3 separate regions of the Homo sapiens genome follow, and all the other regions are linked to region 2. Evidence: promoter capture Hi-C in human tissues and cell types (Jung and others, 2019). All regions are on one chromosome and are shown on one strand. The core of a region is centred on a gene start or on the middle of the fragment in contact, and the rest is flanking DNA. Distances in the headings are between cores, read along the strand shown. Region 1 overlaps BAIAP2L2 (BAR/IMD domain containing adaptor protein 2 like 2). Region 2 holds the start of NPTXR (neuronal pentraxin receptor). Region 3 overlaps TAB1 (TGF-beta activated kinase 1 (MAP3K7) binding protein 1).

Evidence for each region. Contacts are between HindIII fragments. The study calls those that stand out against the background at their distance.
Region 1: a contact is called between a fragment that was not itself captured here and the fragment with the promoter of NPTXR in region 2, in 1 of the 25 tissues and cell types used here (spleen).
Region 3: a fragment that was not itself captured here is called in contact with the fragment with the promoter of NPTXR in region 2 in 3 of the 25 tissues and cell types used here (dorsolateral prefrontal cortex, hippocampus and psoas muscle).

Annotation. Positions count from the first base shown.
Region 1 is chr22:38,094,301-38,097,588 of GRCh38, reverse strand. It overlaps BAIAP2L2 (BAR/IMD domain containing adaptor protein 2 like 2), which reads left to right. Exons shown (of 14, transcript NM_025045.6): 7 at 411-557. Among named protein-coding and RNA genes, the nearest start is that of SLC16A8, 12 kb to the right of the region's middle. The HindIII fragment of the contact is 3,515 bases long and covers 178-3,288 here.
Region 2 is chr22:38,842,697-38,845,984 of GRCh38, reverse strand. It overlaps NPTXR (neuronal pentraxin receptor), which reads left to right and starts at 1,957. Exons shown (of 5, transcript NM_014293.4): 1 at 1,957-2,750. The coding sequence starts at 2,127. RefSeq lists a silencer at 2,369-2,438. The HindIII fragment of the contact is 15,093 bases long and covers 1-3,288 here.
Region 3 is chr22:39,404,095-39,407,641 of GRCh38, reverse strand. The region is part of intron 1 of TAB1 (TGF-beta activated kinase 1 (MAP3K7) binding protein 1); the gene reads right to left. Among named protein-coding and RNA genes, the nearest start is that of TAB1, 6.1 kb to the right of the region's middle. The HindIII fragment of the contact is 6,290 bases long and covers 1-3,547 here.

The sequences.
Region 1 (3,288 bases), core at 686-3,185, 750 kb after region 2:
CTTCCCGTCTCTTCTGGCTCCTTTAAGTGAGCTCACGCCTCCCCTCCTCAGAATCTTCCCCCCAAGTAGGGGCTATTAACCTACTCATTCATATTCTCATTAAACCCGTCCCCCTGCCCCCCCAGCCCGTGCTTGGGCTTGTGCTGGGTGCCAGGGACAGAGCGAAGGCTCAGACAGCAGCCCTGCTTGTGAGAAGCACCTGGGAGAGGGAGACGCAGGGCCCAGACTCATAACAAGGCTGCTGATGATGGGGCAGGCTCAGGAGCTAGGATGGGCCGGGTGATGGGGGGTGGGCTTGGGGAGAGGGCAGTCAGGAAGAACAGGGGGCTTGAACAGCTGGCGCCTGTGGGCGAGGGGGGTGGGATGAGACACACCCACCGCCCCCAGCCAGAACTCCCGTTCCCCCCCAGGAGAGTGTGAACCGGCTGCACGCACAGATGCAGGCCTTCGTGTCTGAGAGTCAGCGGGCGGCTGAATTGGAAGAGAAGCGGCGCTATCGCTTCCTAGCAGAGAAGCACCTGCTACTTTCCAACACCTTCCTGCAGTTCTTCGGCCGGGTGAGTTGGACTGGGGGGCAGCAAGCGGGGCGCTTCTAGGAGCTGCCCCCTCCTGAGTGGCCGTACATAGAGGTTTCCCTCCCTTCTTCCCTCTTCCCTCCCTGCCTGCCTGTCTGTAGAAATTCATTTTATTTTGCTATCTCCATCCATTTCTTCCTTTGTTTCTGGGTTTGCTTGTATCACTGTATATTCACTCATTTATTCACTCGTGATATTGTTTGTTTTTAATGCATTCACGAATTCATGCATTTATTTATTCATGTGTGGACCATTTTTTAATTCCTGTTTGTATATTCTCACAATTCACAAATTCATTGATAGGTGTGCTCAGTTATCGTCTATTAATTTTATCATATTATTTATTTATTTATTTTTTGAGACAGAGTTTCACTCTTGTTGCCCAGGCTGGAGTGCAACGGCACAATCTCGGCTCACTGCAACCTCTCCCTCCCGGGTTCAAGCGATTCTCCTGCCTCAGCCTCCCGAGTAGCTGGGACTACAGGCATGTGCTATCACGCCCGGCTAATTTTTGTATTTTTAGTAGAGACGGGGTTTCGCCATGTTGGCCAGGCTGATCTCAAACTCCTGACCTCAAGCGATCTGCCTGCTTCGGCCTCCCAAAGTGCTGCGATTACAGGCATGAGCTACCATACCCAGCCATTTTATCATATTATTTAAATCCTCTATGCTCTTGCATTGTTCTGTCTGCTAGACTAGTCAGACTCTCTCATCTCTCATTGGATTTCTAATAGATTTCACTTTCTGAATTGAGCTGCCATGTTGTTTGGCGTTTTTTGGCTATAACTATTCTACCTTCTTTGTAAATATTGCCATTTATGTACTTAATGTCTCTCTTAAGTTTGATGCTTTTAATTCCGCCTTGTCTGATATTAATACTGCTCTATTTTCTCTTCTCTTTGCTTATCTCTTTGTATGTTAAGTATACTTTCTGTTACTGACTTTTGAGTTTTTGACCAGTCTTACAGTCTGTGTCTTCTAATAGAAAAGGAATTCAGCCCATTCCCATTTAACATAATAATGAAGATACCTGGGTTTTATTCCTTTTAGATAACTTGAGCTAACTGTATTTACTTTGTCATTTCCTCTTTTTCTCCCACACTATTTCTTGTCAGTTTGGTTGAGTTATTATACTATACATTCCCCTTTTCCCTTTATTAATTTAGAAATTGCACTATTTTTTTCTCTCTACCTGTGGTGACCTCACTTTGTGACTTTCATAATCACATATATATCCACCTATTTTCCAAAAATGCCAACTTCACCCTACTACAGACACACACTGTTCAGTCCATCGCTCCGCCAATTCATAAGATGAGACCTTGATTTAAAGCTTTCCACAAAAATTAGGCTGGGCGCGGTGGCTCACACCAGTAACCCCAACACTTTGGGAGCGCGAGGTGGGTGGATCGCTTGAGGTCAGGAGTTCGAGACCAGCCTGGCCAACATGGCGAAACCCCGTTTCTACTAAAAATACAAAAATTAGCTGGGCGTGGTGGCAGGCACTTGTAATCCCAGCTACTCAGGAGGCTGAGGCAGGAGCATTGCTTGAACCTGGGAGGCAGAAGTTGTAGTGAGCCAAAATCAAGCCACTGCACTCCAGTCTGGGCGACAGAGTGAGACTAAGTCTCAAAAAAAAAGATGAGATAATACCTTAAGAAGTATTTTCCTGCCCTCCAACTATTCTGAGGTGGGGCCTTTGGAAAGCTTTTACTCCTGTCTTCATCCTTCCCATCCTCCACTTCCTGGTTTTGCCAAGATAGTTTAGGACTTAGTTTCAGACCTCACTAGTCATCTCTGCAGCATGACCCTTGTATTTTGATAAACTGATTTTATTTATGTGTGTATGTATTTATTTATTTTGAGACGGAGTCTTGCTCTGTTGCCCAGGCTGGAGTGCAGTGGCGCAATCTCAGCTCCCTGCAACCTCCACCTCCCAGGTTCAAGTGATTCTCCTGCCTCAGCCTCCCAAGTGCTGGGATTACAGGTGTGCGCCACCATGCCCAGCTAATTTTTGTATTTTTAGTAGAGACAGGGTTTCACCATGTTGGCCAGGGTGGTCTCGAACTCCTGACCTCAGGTGATCCACCTGCCTCGGCCTCCCAAAGTGCTGGCATTACAGGCATGAGCCACCACGCCCGGTCCTGGCTTGGGGTTCTTATCCCTCCCACGCCTCCCACGCCTCCCACGCCCTCCCCGAGTCTCTGGATCTGAACCCACGGGCCCAGGGATACATGACTGGATCCAAAGACCCAGATTTCGGCTCAGGCTCTCATCTGCCCACTGTCACCGCCTCACCCGGCCCCAGGCTCAGCCTTCTCGTCCCCTGCTATCCCACAAAAGGTCTGCCAGGGAGAAACAACTTCCTTTTTTGAAAAACAGTTTTATTGAGATATAATTCACATACGATTCACCCATTTACAGTGTACACTTTCTGGTTTGTAGTATATTCACAGAGTCATGCATCCATCACCACTATCAAGCTTAAAATATTTTCAATACCCTCCACCACAGTAACCCAGTACCTCGGCCAGGCGCGGTGGCTCACACCTGTAATCCCAGCACTGTGGGAGGCCGAGGCGGGTGGATCACCTGAGGACAGGAGTTCGAGGCCACCCTGGCCAACATGGTGAAAACCCGTCTCTACTAAAAATACAAAAGTTAGCCAAGCGTGGTTGTACATGCCTGTAATCCCAGCTACACAGGAGGCTGA
Region 2 (3,288 bases), core at 708-3,207:
CCGAGATCACGCCACCGCACTGCAGCCTGGGTGACAGAGCAAGACTCTGTCTCAAAAATAAAATAAAATAAAAAATAAAGTCATTCTAGGAGATCAACAGACCAGTTTAAACACAATTTGACTCCAGCCTCTGGACCCATTTATCCAAACTGTCCCCAAAGTCTCAGGGGGCAGCTCAGGTAAAGGTGGCACCATTTGGTGCCCAAGTCACAGTGGCTCTGCTGCTCTTGGCAGCAGCCCTCTCTCTTGGCATCTCCTGTCCTTCCCTGGACTTCCTATGACAGTTTCTCCTGGGGATGCTATCTCCGTGTTTCTGTCTTCACGGCACACGTGTAGATGTACCAGGAGTCCCGATGTCTCATGCATCCCCAGGACTTTAGCAGGGCCTACCGCTGGCCTTTGCCTTCCAAGAGCCCAGCCCATCTCTCTGTCCATGAGATGCTTCCTCCAAGCCCAGCTGCCTGCCCTGGGTTTTGAGGTTACGACTTCAGTGAGCACCAGCACACATCCACGCACACACAGCACTCAGGTTCCTGGCATACAGCGCTTGTGTTTGCTTCTCTCCTCTTTCACAACTCAGGTATGGATGAAAATCCCTGGCTCCTAGAGATGGGTGAACAGGGTGGACATCATCCTAACATGTGTGGAGAGAGGGAGGTGGAGCACGTGTGCCTGGGAACACTGGACAAAATCCCCGTGGCTGGAGAGCGTCCCCCAGGGTTGTGGCTTCCTGGGAAACATTCCGGTCTCTCCCCACCACCAGCGCTATGTGAAGTACACTCGAAACCACAGTGGTAGCCGTGGTGGTCCAGAGATCCTGGTTTGCGCTTTCCCTTCAAGTCAAAAATGCAGGCTTGGAAGGGAGACAGAGCTGGGAATAACCACAGCCCTCCCAAGGCCCTTCCAGCCCTGGGAATCCGTATTGGTCAGGAAAGACCTCATGGAAAATTGGAGCTGGGGATAAAGTGTGGAGGATAGTAGGATTGTTTTTAAGTTTTTAATTGCAAAGTTAATTTTCAACAAAATATATATAGACATTTTTGACAGAAGAAAGTAAAACGCTCCTCTGCCACCCCCACAGCACAGCCCACTCCCATTCCTGCTGTTCCTTCTGGGCCTGGTCCACATGCCCACCAGGCACGTGGCACCGCTTGCCAACGAAGGCAGACTGCAGTGGGGGTGGGGGGTTTCTCTGGACCTGTGAGGCTCTAAGCCCCCAAGGATTCAGAGGAGAGAATTTCCATCATCCTCTGAGATCACAGGAAGATTCTGTAATGAGGGTGGCGGGGAGTGAACTCTGCTCCTTCAGAAGGTTGGAGGTGGGGGTGACGGGCAGGTGGCCACAGTATAAACAGAAGTTAGGTCAAAATCCGAGCCTCCCCCCAACCCCCAACACTGGCCTCTTCTCCACCTCTAACCGCTCCCACTCCAGCCCCATCCACAGTCTGGTCCGGTGAAACGTGCCTAAGCTCGCAGGCGGCTCCAACGCAGCCACCCGGTGACCTTGGACAGAGGCCTGACCTCAGGTGTCTCAGTTTCCTCATTTCTATTGTGAGCCTGTCCACGGCAAGGCTCAATTGCGACCGAGCTTGTGGCGCGCCCAGTGCACAGCCCCACCCGGAAGAAAGCTCCCTCCCGGGTGGATGTGAACATAACCGGCTTGGGGAGGGGGCCCGAGCACGGGAGGGCTGGGATGGGGGTCACCCAGGAGCCCCGCCGCGCGGCCCTCGGGTCGCCGGCCCCTGCGCTGTGACCGCGGCGAGATAAGGTCCCAGGCGCTGCCCTCGCTCCTCGCCGCATCCCCGGCGGCGCCCCCAGCCGGGCGCCCGGCACTGAACGGGTGCGGGGCTGGGCCGGGGCCAGGGCCGGCCCGGGGAAGCGAGTGGGGCGGGGCCGCCGCGCCCGCTCCCCCTCCCCGCCGCCTGCCGTCTTCTCCTCCTCCCGCCGCCCGGGCTCAGAGCGGCGGCAGCAGCGGCCGCGGCGACAGCTCCAGCTCCGGCTCCGGCTCCGGCTCCGGCTCCGGCTCCCGCGCCTGCCCCGCTCGGCCCAGCGCGCCCGGGCTCCGCGCCCCGACCCCGCCGCCGCGCCTGCCGGGGGCCTCGGGCGCCCCCGCCGCCCGCCTCACGCTGAAGTTCCTGGCCGTGCTGCTGGCCGCGGGCATGCTGGCGTTCCTCGGTGCCGTCATCTGCATCATCGCCAGCGTGCCCCTGGCGGCCAGCCCGGCGCGGGCGCTGCCCGGCGGCGCCGACAATGCTTCGGTCGCCTCGGGCGCCGCCGCGTCCCCGGGCCCGCAGCGGAGCCTGAGCGCGCTGCACGGCGCGGGCGGTTCAGCCGGGCCCCCCGCGCTGCCCGGGGCACCCGCGGCCAGCGCGCACCCGCTGCCGCCCGGGCCCCTGTTCAGCCGCTTCCTGTGCACGCCGCTGGCTGCTGCCTGCCCGTCGGGGGCCCAGCAGGGGGACGCGGCGGGCGCTGCGCCGGGCGAGCGCGAAGAGCTGCTGCTGCTGCAGAGCACGGCCGAGCAGCTGCGCCAGACGGCGCTGCAGCAGGAGGCGCGCATCCGCGCCGACCAGGACACCATCCGTGAGCTCACCGGCAAGCTGGGCCGCTGCGAGAGCGGCCTGCCGCGCGGCCTCCAGGGCGCCGGGCCCCGCCGCGACACCATGGCCGACGGGCCCTGGGACTCGCCTGCGCTCATTCTGGAGCTGGAGGACGCCGTGCGCGCCCTGCGGGACCGCATCGACCGCCTGGAGGTGAGCGCCGCGCGCCGTCGGGGGAGCCGCCCGGGTGGTGTGAGGGGCCGCCCGGCCGCGGTCGTCCGGCGGTCCCCGAGCCTCCGGTCTCCCGTCTGTGTTCCGGGGACGATCGCGCCTTCCTCGCTGGCGAGGCGGGGGGATTTCGATAGGGAACGCGGGCAGGCGTCTGGCACGGTGACTGAGGCACAGAGGGCGCGCCAGAAAGATTCGCTCCCCACCCTTTTCCGTCTCCAGGCACCTCTCTGAGCCTCAGTTTCTGTGTCTGTAAAATAGGTATAACAGTGTCCACTTGTAGTGGAAATTGAATCAAATGTAGGTGTGTGAAAATGCTTGGCACGTACTAGGACCTCATTAAATGTCCCTTTCATTTCCTTCTTCCGGACACCCCCAAATCAGCCCAGCTCCACGCTCACACTTTATGGCCAGGAGATGGATGCGCTGTCCAAAGGACTTGGGGTCCTCCCCTCATTACACAGAGCCGGGAACAGAGTGCCCTATAAGACAAACCTGGGTGCCCCTCACCACCTCCCTACCC
Region 3 (3,547 bases), core at 185-2,684, 560 kb before region 2:
TGGTGGCAGACGCCTGTAGTCCCATCTACTATCGGGAAGCTGAGGAAGGAGAATCGCTGGAACCCGGGAGGCAGAGCGTGCAGTGAGCCGAGATCACGCCACTGCACTCCAGCCTGGGAGACAGAGTGAGGCTCCCTCTCAAAAAAAAAAAACAAAACAACAACAAATGATCAGGGCCATAGCAAGGCTGCCCACTCTATTACTTCACACAGAACTGGAGGTGTTAGCCCAGGCAGTTAGACAGAGTAAAGAATGAGAGCATAAAAACCGGGAAAGAAGTCATTTCTATTTGCAGTTGATAGGACAGTACGCCTGGCAACCCTAAAGAATCAATGAAAAACTAATGCAAACAGAAAAAGAAATCAGTTAGGCGGCAGGATAGAAAATCAAAGTATGCAAATCAACAGCTTTCATATACCCAAGAGAAGATGAGCATCTAGCCTCTATGTAATGTAAAATAACAAAGTCCTTTTCCTGTGAGTTTCTACCATGTCTGTCTCCCCCAGCCAAACTACTATAGAAGGTTGTTTTAAATCTAAATTTATATCAGTCGAATTACATCTTAATGCATTCATCCCAGCCTTCCAGACTGTCGAAAGTTTTGAATTTTGCCCTTTGACAGATTAACAATCTCACTCAGCTGTGTATCTTGTACAGACAAGGCCTTCTACTCACTGTTCCAAACAATCTCTAAAAAACTGTGACCAGAGGCCGGGCGCAGTGGCTCACGCCTGTAATCCCAGCACTTTGGGAGGCCAAGGCGGGCAGATCATGAGGTCAAGAGATTGAGACCATCCTGGCTAACACGGTGAAACCCCGTCTCTACTAAAAATACAAAAAAATTAGGTGGGCGTGGTGGTGGGTGCCTGTAGTCCCAGCTACTCCAGAGGCGGAGGCAGGAGAATGGTGTGAACCCGGGAGGCAGAGCTTGCAGTGAGCCGAGATGGCGCCACTGCACTCCAGCCTGGGCGACACAGCAAGACTCCGTCTCAAAAATAAAAAATAAATTAAAAAAAAATAAAGAAAGAGTAAGAAAAAAATTACCCAAAGAGCATATGTAAAAGTACCCATGGTAAGGCAAAGCCTGTCCCTTTCTGTCTTTTTAAGTCCTATCTACCCTAAAGGCACTGCTCAAATCCAACTAGGGCCAGAGGCCCATGATTCCCAAACCTCAATCATCCACTGACCATCTTCAAGAAACTATCTTTCACTCAAATGATTCCTTTTTTTTTTTTTTTTTTTTTGGTGACAGTCTCACTCTGTCGCCCAGGCTGGAGTGCAGTGGCGCGATCTTGGCTCACTGCAAGCTCTGCCCCTCCAGGTTTAAGCAATTCTCTGCCTCAGCCTCTGGAGTAGCTGGGATTACAGGTGCGTGCCACCATGCCCGGCTAATTTTTTGTATTTTTAGTAGAGACGTGGTTTCACCATCTTGGCCAGGCTGGTCTTGAACTCCTGACCTTGTGATCCACACGCCTTGGCCTCCCAAAGTGGCCCTGTGGCAACCATTGTGCTATAGCCTGGTATTGTTAATTAGATTACCTTATTTCACTGATTTGAAGACCTACATTTTCCACATGTTAACGTCTCTGGAGTTGGTATGTTACAAGTTAATTAGCTGTGAGTTCTCTTTCTGAGCAATAGACAAAACACTGACGTGTCCTTAAAACATTGGTGTCTTAGATCCAATGACACATGGGCAGTTTCTCACGTAATTCGGGCGCTCGCCAGACACTGGTTCACTACAGTGGCCGGAGAACCTCAGGAGGTTCTACCAAGTGGGAGTGAGAGTATCTGGTCTTCTCCGTGTTCCCCAGCGGACTCACGCTGCTGCAGCTGAGTAGGCTTGGATCGTGTTCTCCCGTCCCTTTCCATCTCCATCGAGGATTAGCCATACCGAGCGTCCATTGCTGATTCCATTAAAGCCTACAGGACTGCCAAGTCTCTCGCTTCCTTCCTCCACATTTCTGAACAATTTTCAGAAAGGTCATGTACTTTCTATTCACACAAACCACCCACCCCTCCACCCCTGCACACACTGATGCATACTTTCTCCCACGCCCCCAAATGCCAGGCCTGCCAGCACCAGCCGTGAGCGGCGCTGGAGCGCAGGGAGCAAGAGTCTGCGAGAAGCTGAGAAGGGGGCGTCTCTCACTCAGCACAGCCTCATCGCGGAGCCACTGCAACACACACAACAGCGAACGCAGGACTTAACTCTTCCATGTCTGAGAAATGAACTGCTCATGAGAAATTTCACAAGAATACGTTAAGAAGCCTGTTTCAAAAGACCTAATTTTGATTTGATTTTGTGAAGGAGTTTCCAAAATTAATGTTTCGGTATGAAAAGCTTCTACAGTGATCCAACAGTATTTAACCCAACAAGGCCTTTACAAACACCCTGTGCATGATGTAAGCATTCACTCCTCATGTATATATGTGTCCATGTCACATAATAGTTCACAAAGTACCCACACAGACTCATCTCAAAGTCCTGGGCAGCAGAAATGGACAAAGAATGGTTCCAAGCTCAGGCCACAGCTTGAATACCAAATTATGCTATGAAAAGGCCAAGTGTTTTTGTGGTAAAAGCACCCACATTCCTTAGAAGCAAAAAGGAAGCTCAGAAAGGGAGACTCACAACCCCAGGAAGAGGGCTCGGAGCAGGGGAGCAGCAGACCTTTCTCTCCAAAAAGCTTCCAAGGCCCCAATGCCCCCACCACCTCCAACCTTCCGGATGACCCACTTCTCTGAGACCAGCTCCACTCCTGGCCCCCACTTCTCCCACCGGAGTTTTCATTGAAGGTTCTCCATGTCGTCATCCTAAAGAGCTCCTCATTCATTCTTAAAGGGGCTAATAATCATTGTTGGCACTTCCAATGTGCTAGGGCAGCAGCTGGGTGTATGCAATGGGTATAGGTGGTACCCCCATGGACCTTTTTATTTTAGTGGCTATGTATTTATTTTAACATCCTTTAGATAAATTACACAGATAGCAGCACCTATGATCTCAGATATAATTGCTCAGGACATGTCGAAGTTTAAAAAATTGATTTTAAGCTTACTTTCTTTTTTTTTTTTTAAACAGGTCTTGCTGTGTCACCCAGCCTGGAGTGCAGTGAGGGGATCATAGCCTCACTACAACCTCAAACTTCTGGGCTCAGGCAATCACCCCATTAAGTCTCCTAAGTACTACAGGCACATACCACCATGCCTCACTAATTTTTTTAAAGACTGAATCTCACTATGTTGCCCGAGCTGATCTGGAACTCCTGGCCTCAAGTGATCCTCCTGCCTCAGCCTCCCAAAGGGCTGGGATTCCAGGCATGAGCCACCATGCCTAGCCTGATTTTCTTTTTTATAATTAAGTAACAGTACAGGCAAAATCAAACTCTTGATTCCCCCTGCCCCAGGGTGCCCCTCTTCCAGGGCTCCCTCACCCCGTAAATGGCACCACTGTTGTTTAAACCAAAACCTTAAGAGTCCTTTTTGACTCTTCTTCCTCTGTCACACACCTCACATTCAATCCATCAGCAAATCACATGAGCTCTTC